Linked DNA regions of Homo sapiens: region 2 is linked to region 1. The links are contacts of gene promoters, found by promoter capture Hi-C in human tissues and cell types (Jung and others, 2019). All regions are on one chromosome and are shown on one strand. The core of a region is centred on a gene start or on the middle of the fragment in contact, and the rest is flanking DNA. Distances in the headings are between cores, read along the strand shown. Region 1 overlaps CATSPERG (catsper channel auxiliary subunit gamma). Region 2 holds the start of ZFP36 (ZFP36 ring finger protein).

Region 1 (3,521 bases), core at 304-2,803:
AGAGGAGAAGGATGTTTCAGGCATGCAGAACAGCACCAGTGAAGGCTAAGAGGCGTCCCCGAGAGAAGGCGGCACTCAGGCCACCAAGGGGAGGCCTTGGTTGCTGTGGGACCAGGGCGAGGGATTTACCAGATTCAGCACCTGTGCACAGCCCTTCATCGAGAGGGCTGACTTTCTTTACTTTCTTTGCCAGGCTCCTTTCTTTTCCTTTTTTTTTTTTTTTTCAAGAAGGAGTCTCACTCTGTCGCCCAGGCTACAGTGCAGTGGCATGATCTCGACTCACTGCAGCCTCTGTCTCCTGGGTTCAAGTGATTCTCCTGCCTCAGCCTCCTGAGTAGCTGGGACTACACACGTGCACCACCATGCCCAGCTAATTTTTGTATTTTTAGTAAAGATGAGGTTTCACCACGTTGGCCAGCCTGGTCTCAAACTCCTGACCTCAACTGATCTGCGCGCTTCGGCCTCCCAAAGTGCTGGGATTACAGGCATGAGCCACCAGGCCATTCTTTCTTTGAAAACTGTTTAATTTTTGTAGAGACAGAGTCTACTCTGTTGCCCAGGCTGGCTATTTCTGTAATTTATTTATTTATTTATTTATTTATTTATTTTTTACATGGGACAGGGTCTTGCTATGTTGGCCAGGTTGGTCTTGAACTCTTGGCCTCAAGCAATCCTCCAGCCTTAGCCTCCTAAAATGCTAGGATTACAGGTGTAAGCCACTGCACCTGGCTTTTTTTTTTTTTTTTTAAGATAAGGTCTTGCTCTGTTGCCCAGTCCGGAGTGCAGTGGTGCCATCACAGCTCACTGTAACCTCCACCTCTCCCAGACTTCAGCAATCCTCTTACCTCAGCCTCCCAAATAGCTGGGACTACAGGTACCACTACCACGCCTGGCTAATTTTTTTATTTTTTATTTTTTTTCCGAGACGGAGTTTTGCACTTGTTGCCCAGGCTGGAGTATAAGGGCGCCATCTCAGCTCATTGCACCCTCTGCCTCCTAGGTTCAGGCGATCGTCCTGCCTCAGCCTCCCAAGTAGCTGGGATTACAGGCATGCGCCACCACGCCCGGCTAATTTTTGCATTTTTAGTAGAGATGGGGTTTCACCATGTTGGTCAGGCTAGTCTCGAACTCCTGAACTCAGGTGATCCACCTGCCCTGGCCTCCCAAAGTGCTGGGATTACAGGCATGAGCCACTATGCCCGGCCCAATTTTTTGATTTTTTTTGTAGAGACAGGGTCTCCCTATGTTGTCCAGGCTGGTCTTGAATTCTTGGGCTCAAGCAATCTTCTCTCCCTGGCCTCCCAAAGTGCTGGGATTATAGGTATGAGCCACCACACCCAGCACCAGGCTCTTTTCAATCCTGTCAACTACACCTGTCCCTGGCCCTGCCTGAGTTCCCATTGCAGAGGAGAAGGTGCTAGTGGGGCAGGGACCTCCTTCCTGTGAGGATGACAGTAGCCACTAACACCCTGGTCCTGTCCCCGTCATCTCCTGCCTGGGCAATGTAGCAGCCTCCTCCTTGTCTCACTGCTCCTGCCCTGCTCCCCCAACAACAGGAGGGAGCCAGTGAAGCCTGGAATCAGATCCAATCCCTCCTCTGCATAGGGCCCTCTCAGGCTCTGTCTCAGAGTAAAAGCCAAGTCCTCACCATGGCCCATCAAGCCCCAAAAACCTTCCCCCATCACTTCCCTGACCTCTCCTCCCACACTCCCTCTCACTCACTCTGCTCCAGCCACAAAGTCCTCTTCATAGTTTCTCACACATGCTGACCTCTTTCCTACCTCTGGGCCATCGTGCTGGCTCTTCCCTCGGCCTGGAAAGCTTTACCTGGCTCTCCTAATAATCCCCACTTTTTATCATTTGAGTCTCTGCTCAAGCCTTTCCAGAGTGACCTTCTCCAACGACCCCCACTAAAACAGTGCCCCCCCCTCCTTTCTAACGTATTACCTCATTTTATTATTTGCATTTATTAATACTACTCTCAGAAATTCTTTCATGCCAGCCTTAGGCAACATAGTGAGACCCTGTCTAATTGAAAGTACACTGGTGTGATGGCTTGAGCCTGTAGTCCCTGCTACTTGGGAGGCTGAGGCAGGAGGATCACTTCAGCCCAGGAGGTCGAGGCTGCAATGAGCTATGATCAAGCCACTGCATTTCAGCCTGGGTGACAGCGCAAGACCCTGTCTCTAAAAAAATAAAATTATTGGCCGGGCGCGGTGGCTCACATCTATAATCCCAGCACTTTGGGAGGCCGAGGCAGGTGGATCACCTGAGGTCAGGAGTTCAAGACCAGCCTGACCAATATGGAGAAACCCCATCTCTACCAAAAATACAAAATTAGCCGGGCGTGGTGGCGCACATCTGTAGTCCCAGCTACTTGGGCAGCTGAGGCAGGAGAATCGCTTGAACCCAGAATGTGTAGGCTGTACTGAGCCGAGATCATGCCACTGTACTCCAGCCTGGGTGACAGAGTGAGACCCTGTCTCAAAAAAAGAAAAAAAAAAAGACTCTGTGATACTGGCATATGAATAGGCATTTAGAGCAATGAATTATTGAGAAATCAATTCATTTAGAATAGAATTGAGTCCAGAAAGAAACCCTTATATTTATATTCAATTGATTTTTGACAAAGGTGCCAAGACAATTCAGCGGGGAAAGAATAATCTCAACAGGCCAGGCATGGTGGCTCACGCCTGTAGTCCCAGCACTTTGGGAGGCCAAGGCAGGTGGATCACCTGAGGTCAGGAGTTCGAGACCAGCCTGGCCAACATGGTGAAACCCTGTCTCTACTAAAATATAAAAATTAGCCAGGCATGGTGGCGCATGCCTGTAATTCCTGCTACTCAGTAGGCTGAGGCAGGAGAATCGCTTGAACCTGGGAGGGGGAGGTTGCAGTGAGCCAAGATCACGCCACTGCACTCCAGCCTGGGTGGCAGAATGAGATTTTGTCTCAAAAAAAAAAAAGAAGAATCTCACCAAACGGCATTGGGACAACTGGATATGCACGTGTAAAAGCTTGGACCTCACACCATATACAAAAATTAACTCAAAATGGATGAAAGACCTAAATGTAAGAGCTAAAACTAAAAATCTCTTGAAGAAAATATGAGTAAGTCTTCATGATCTTTAGTTACGCAAGGCCTTTGTAAATGACACAAAAAACACAAGCAAAAAAAAGAAAAAAATTTATAAACTGGGCTTCACCAAAATTAAAAACTTTAATTCCTGCTACTCAGGAGGCTGAGGCAGGAGAATCGCTTAGAACCCAGGAGGCAGAGACTGCAGTGTGCCGAGATTGCGCCACTGCACTCCAGCCTGGGCGACAGAGTGTTAGGAGAAGCTGAGGCAGGGCTTGCATGTCTGACATAATGTAAAAGAGTCTTGGAACATGTCCGGGGTCCAGGGTCTAAAACCCCTTGTGGCCTTTGGAACACCAAGCTCTGTGCTAAAGGGTGGAAGCCTACCATCATGCACCATAATCTAAGCCAAGGGCATAAAATCCCTCATGGCCTCGATAGAAT
Region 2 (3,521 bases), core at 466-2,965, 1.1 Mb before region 1:
AGGGTCGGATCCCAGGGACTGTACAGAGGGGGTCCGAACCAGGCCACCCAAGGGCCCCCAGACGCTGATAGGAGTGGCCCTTCGGCAGGAGGGGCAACAGACTGGGGTGGGGTCTCTTCGAGCCAGGGGGGTGCCAGGGGCAGCAGAGAAGGCAGAGGGTGACAGTGGAAGGTCCCCAGGTGGTGGTGGGGAGCTGGAGGGCGAGAAGGAGCTGGAGGACAGGGAAGGGCCGGCCAGGCCTGGTGGTGGTGGTGAGGTCCGGCGGCCAGAGGGCAGGCCGGAGAAGCTGATGCTCTGGCGAAGCACAGGAGGGTGGCCCGGGGCCGCCAGGTCTTCGCTAGGGTTGTGGATGAAGTGGCAGCGAGAGCCGTAGGGGCAGCGGCCCTGGAGGTAGAACTTGTGACAGAGTTCCGTCTTGTATTTGGGGTGGCGATTGGCCTGGCGCAGCTCGCCCAGGCCATGGGCAAACTGGCACTTGGCCCCGTAGCGGCAGCGCCCACTCTCTGAGAAGGTCCGACATAGCTCAGTCTTGTAGCGCGAGGGGGTGGTGGAGGTTGCAGTGGGCGAAGTGGGTGAGGGTGACAGCTCAGGGCCCAGGCGGGGAGCCAGCGGTGCGAAGCCAGGGGGTGGGGGCACCCAGCCACAGCTGCGGCCCTCCACTAGGCTGGTGGAGCGGCCAGGCAGGCGGGAGGTGACCCCAGACGGGCTGGAGTCGGAGGGGCTCAGGCTCCAGGGTCCCGAGGAGCCCCAGCCTGGGCTGGACTCAGTCCCTCCATGGTCGGATGGCACGGGCACGTCAGGGCTCAGCGACAGGAGGCTCTGCGGAAATGGGTCGGTTAAGGCACCTGAAAATGCAGGGCGACGCCCCACCCCAGCTGCAGGGAACTAGAGCTTGCCAGGCCGGTTTGTGGGCTCCCCGCCTGAGCCCCACCCGCCCGCAGAAACCCCTGGGTTCCGGATGCCAGGAACCCAGAGTTGGAGGTTCTGAGTTTACCCACCACCGAGGCCTTATCCCGAGGGACCCAGGAATCCCGGCTTCCCCGGCTGGACCAAGAGGGGGACCCCGAAGTCAGGGCGCACCACTGTTTCCCAATTTTGGGTCTCTTGTCCTCCCCGGATATGACCCACGCGTCGGGATCTCCAGTTTCACAACTGGAGAAACCGGGCAAAGTTGACCTGGAAGTCCGGATTGCTTCGGTTTTAGGGTTCTCTGTCTCTACGGTCAGGGACTGGAGAGACAGAAGTCGGATCCCCCCACCCTGAGACTTCAGCCCCAGAGACGCCTCCGCGCAAAACCACGCCCTCAGCAACGACTAGGGGTGAGCCAGGTATGGGGGCCACTTCCGCCTCCAGGCAGCCTCGGTCTGAGAAAAGTTCTCCGACTTTCCACTTGCATGGGCCGCCCCACCCATGTTTGAGCGAAGAGCCGGGTGTCGCGGGTTCCATTTTCACCTCCAAATCACCAAGCTGGTCTGAGCGGGAGGCAGGGGCCCCAGGCTGGAGGGCGCGGCGCTAGGGAGCCCCAGTTGGAGAAGGGAGGCAAGCGTCCCGGGCTGGAGTTTGCGGCGCTAGAGAGGTGGGGACTCGGACTCAGGCATGCAGGTACCGGGGATGCCGTGCGGCGGGGACTCACCTCGTAGATGGCAGTCAGATCCATGGTGTAACGGTTGGCCATGAGGGGTGTCGGCCGAGAGTGGGAGCGCTGAAGTCAGGCTGAGGCTGGCACCGAGAGCCGGCTACTTATAGGAAACTGCAAGCACGGGGCGGGGCCGGGGCCGGGGCCGGGGGCGGGGCAGGAGGGGCGCTTCCCGGACGCGCGCCCCCGGCGCAGCCTGGCTGGCCCTGGACTGGTTCCCTTCCGCCCGGCCCTGGGCCAGGACGCGCCTGAGCTTGGCCGGTGGACAGCCGTGACCGAGCGGGGAATGCGTGGGGAAGGGGTGGGGGTGCGGATGGGGGGACGCCTGCCCAGTTTTCAAAGCTGGAGACTGAGGCTTGTAGAAGGAAACTGGGGCGGAGGTGGGGGCAGGGCCCCAGGGGCAATTGACAAGAGCAGAAGCCCGATGGGGGTGCGCGTGCGACACAGACGGATGGGGGCGGGGAGAGACGCAGAGGGGTACAGACAGGCAGACAGGCAGAGAGAAAAACATCGAGAGAGACACACACACCAAGAGACATACAGAGAGAGATAGACAGGGTGAGGAAGGGAGGGAAGACGGGGAGACAGAGACAGTCCCAGAGACAGATTCAGAGGGAGAAGAGGGTTGGGAGGATCACAAAAAGAAACAGAAAGGGGCTGAGCGCAGTGGCTCACACCTGTGATCCCAGCACTTTTTGTGTTTTTCTTTCCTTTTTCTTCTTCTTTTTTTTTTTTTTTGAAAGACGGGGTTTCCCTATGTTGCCCAGGCTAATCTCCAGCTCCGGGGCTCAAGCGATCCTCCCACCTCCGCCTCCCAAAGAGCTGGAATTACAGGTGTGAGCCACCAAGCCCGGCCAATCCCAGTACTTTCAGAGGATGAGGCAGGTGGATTACCTGAGATCAGGAGTTCAAGATCAGCCTGGGCAACAGTGAGATCCCATGTCTACAAAAAATACTATTTAAAAAAATTAAAAAGAAAAAGAAACTGGACAAAAAGGAGAAAGACTGTGAGAAATAAGCACTTACGGAAAGAAATCTGCAGAGCAAAGTGCCAAGAAAGAGCCAGCAGGCCTTGGAGGGGAATTCTCTGAGAACTGCCTGCCTTGTGTGGTCTCACTCCTAAACAGCCCAGACAGATAAGGAGACCTGGACTGCTCTCCCTCTCCCCACTTGCTGGGGTTGGGTGGGTGAGTGAGTGGGTTGGGTGGGGTCCAGGATACCTGGCAAGGCTGAAAAGGGGCCTCCTTTCCCAATTCACAGGGCGGCTCTAGCCCCCTCACCCTCGGGCGGATGATCTCTTCTAGGCTGAGTTAAGGAGAACTCACCTGGGCTGAGTTCTAAGTACTTTACGCACATTAATCCTAATGCCAGGTGGTATGCCCATTTAAGGCAGGAGGAAACCAAAGTGAAGTTACTCTCCTGCCCGGCTCACACCTGTAGTCCTAGCACTTTGGGCGCCCAAGGCAGGCGGATCACTAGAGCTCGGAGTCTGAGACTAGCCTGGGCAACACGGCGAATCCCCATTTCTACAAAAATGCAAAAATTAGCTGAGTGTGGTGGCGCACACCCTGTGGTCCCGCTACTCGGGGGCGGGGAGGGAGCAGGCTGGGGTGGGAGAGTCGCTTGAACCCAGGAGGCAGAGGTTGCAATGAGCCGAGATCAGGCGACTGCACTCCAGCCTGGGCCACAGAGCGAGACTCCCTCTCAGGGGGAAAAATAAAGTTACTCTCCTAGTTCGAGCTAGCAAATGGCACAGGCCTCATACTAGGGTCTGAAATTATGTCGAGGTTTGCCCTCTGAGAAAACTCAAGATTGGCAAGGTGGAGGTCTTTCACTATAACTGATGGTTGCATTGATTGAAAAAAGCTTTCAAAAAAAAAAAAAA

The links. The method cuts DNA at HindIII sites, captures the fragments that hold promoters and counts their contacts. A contact is called where the count stands out against the background at its distance.
Region 2: a contact is called between the fragment with the promoter of ZFP36 here and a fragment that was not itself captured in region 1, in 1 of the 25 tissues and cell types used here (hippocampus).

The regions. Positions count from the first base shown.
Region 1 is chr19:38,339,304-38,342,824 of GRCh38, reverse strand. The region is part of intron 3 of CATSPERG (catsper channel auxiliary subunit gamma); the gene reads right to left. Among named protein-coding and RNA genes, the nearest start is that of CATSPERG, 5.2 kb to the right of the region's middle. The HindIII fragment of the contact is 4,605 bases long and covers 1-3,521 here.
Region 2 is chr19:39,405,041-39,408,561 of GRCh38, reverse strand. It overlaps ZFP36 (ZFP36 ring finger protein), which reads right to left and starts at 1,715. Exons shown (of 2, transcript NM_003407.5): 1 at 1,634-1,715; 2 at 1-819. The coding sequence starts at 1,657. RefSeq lists enhancers at 1-24, 25-663, 664-1,301, 1,352-1,551 and a silencer at 1,672-2,121. The HindIII fragment of the contact is 20,061 bases long and covers 1-3,521 here.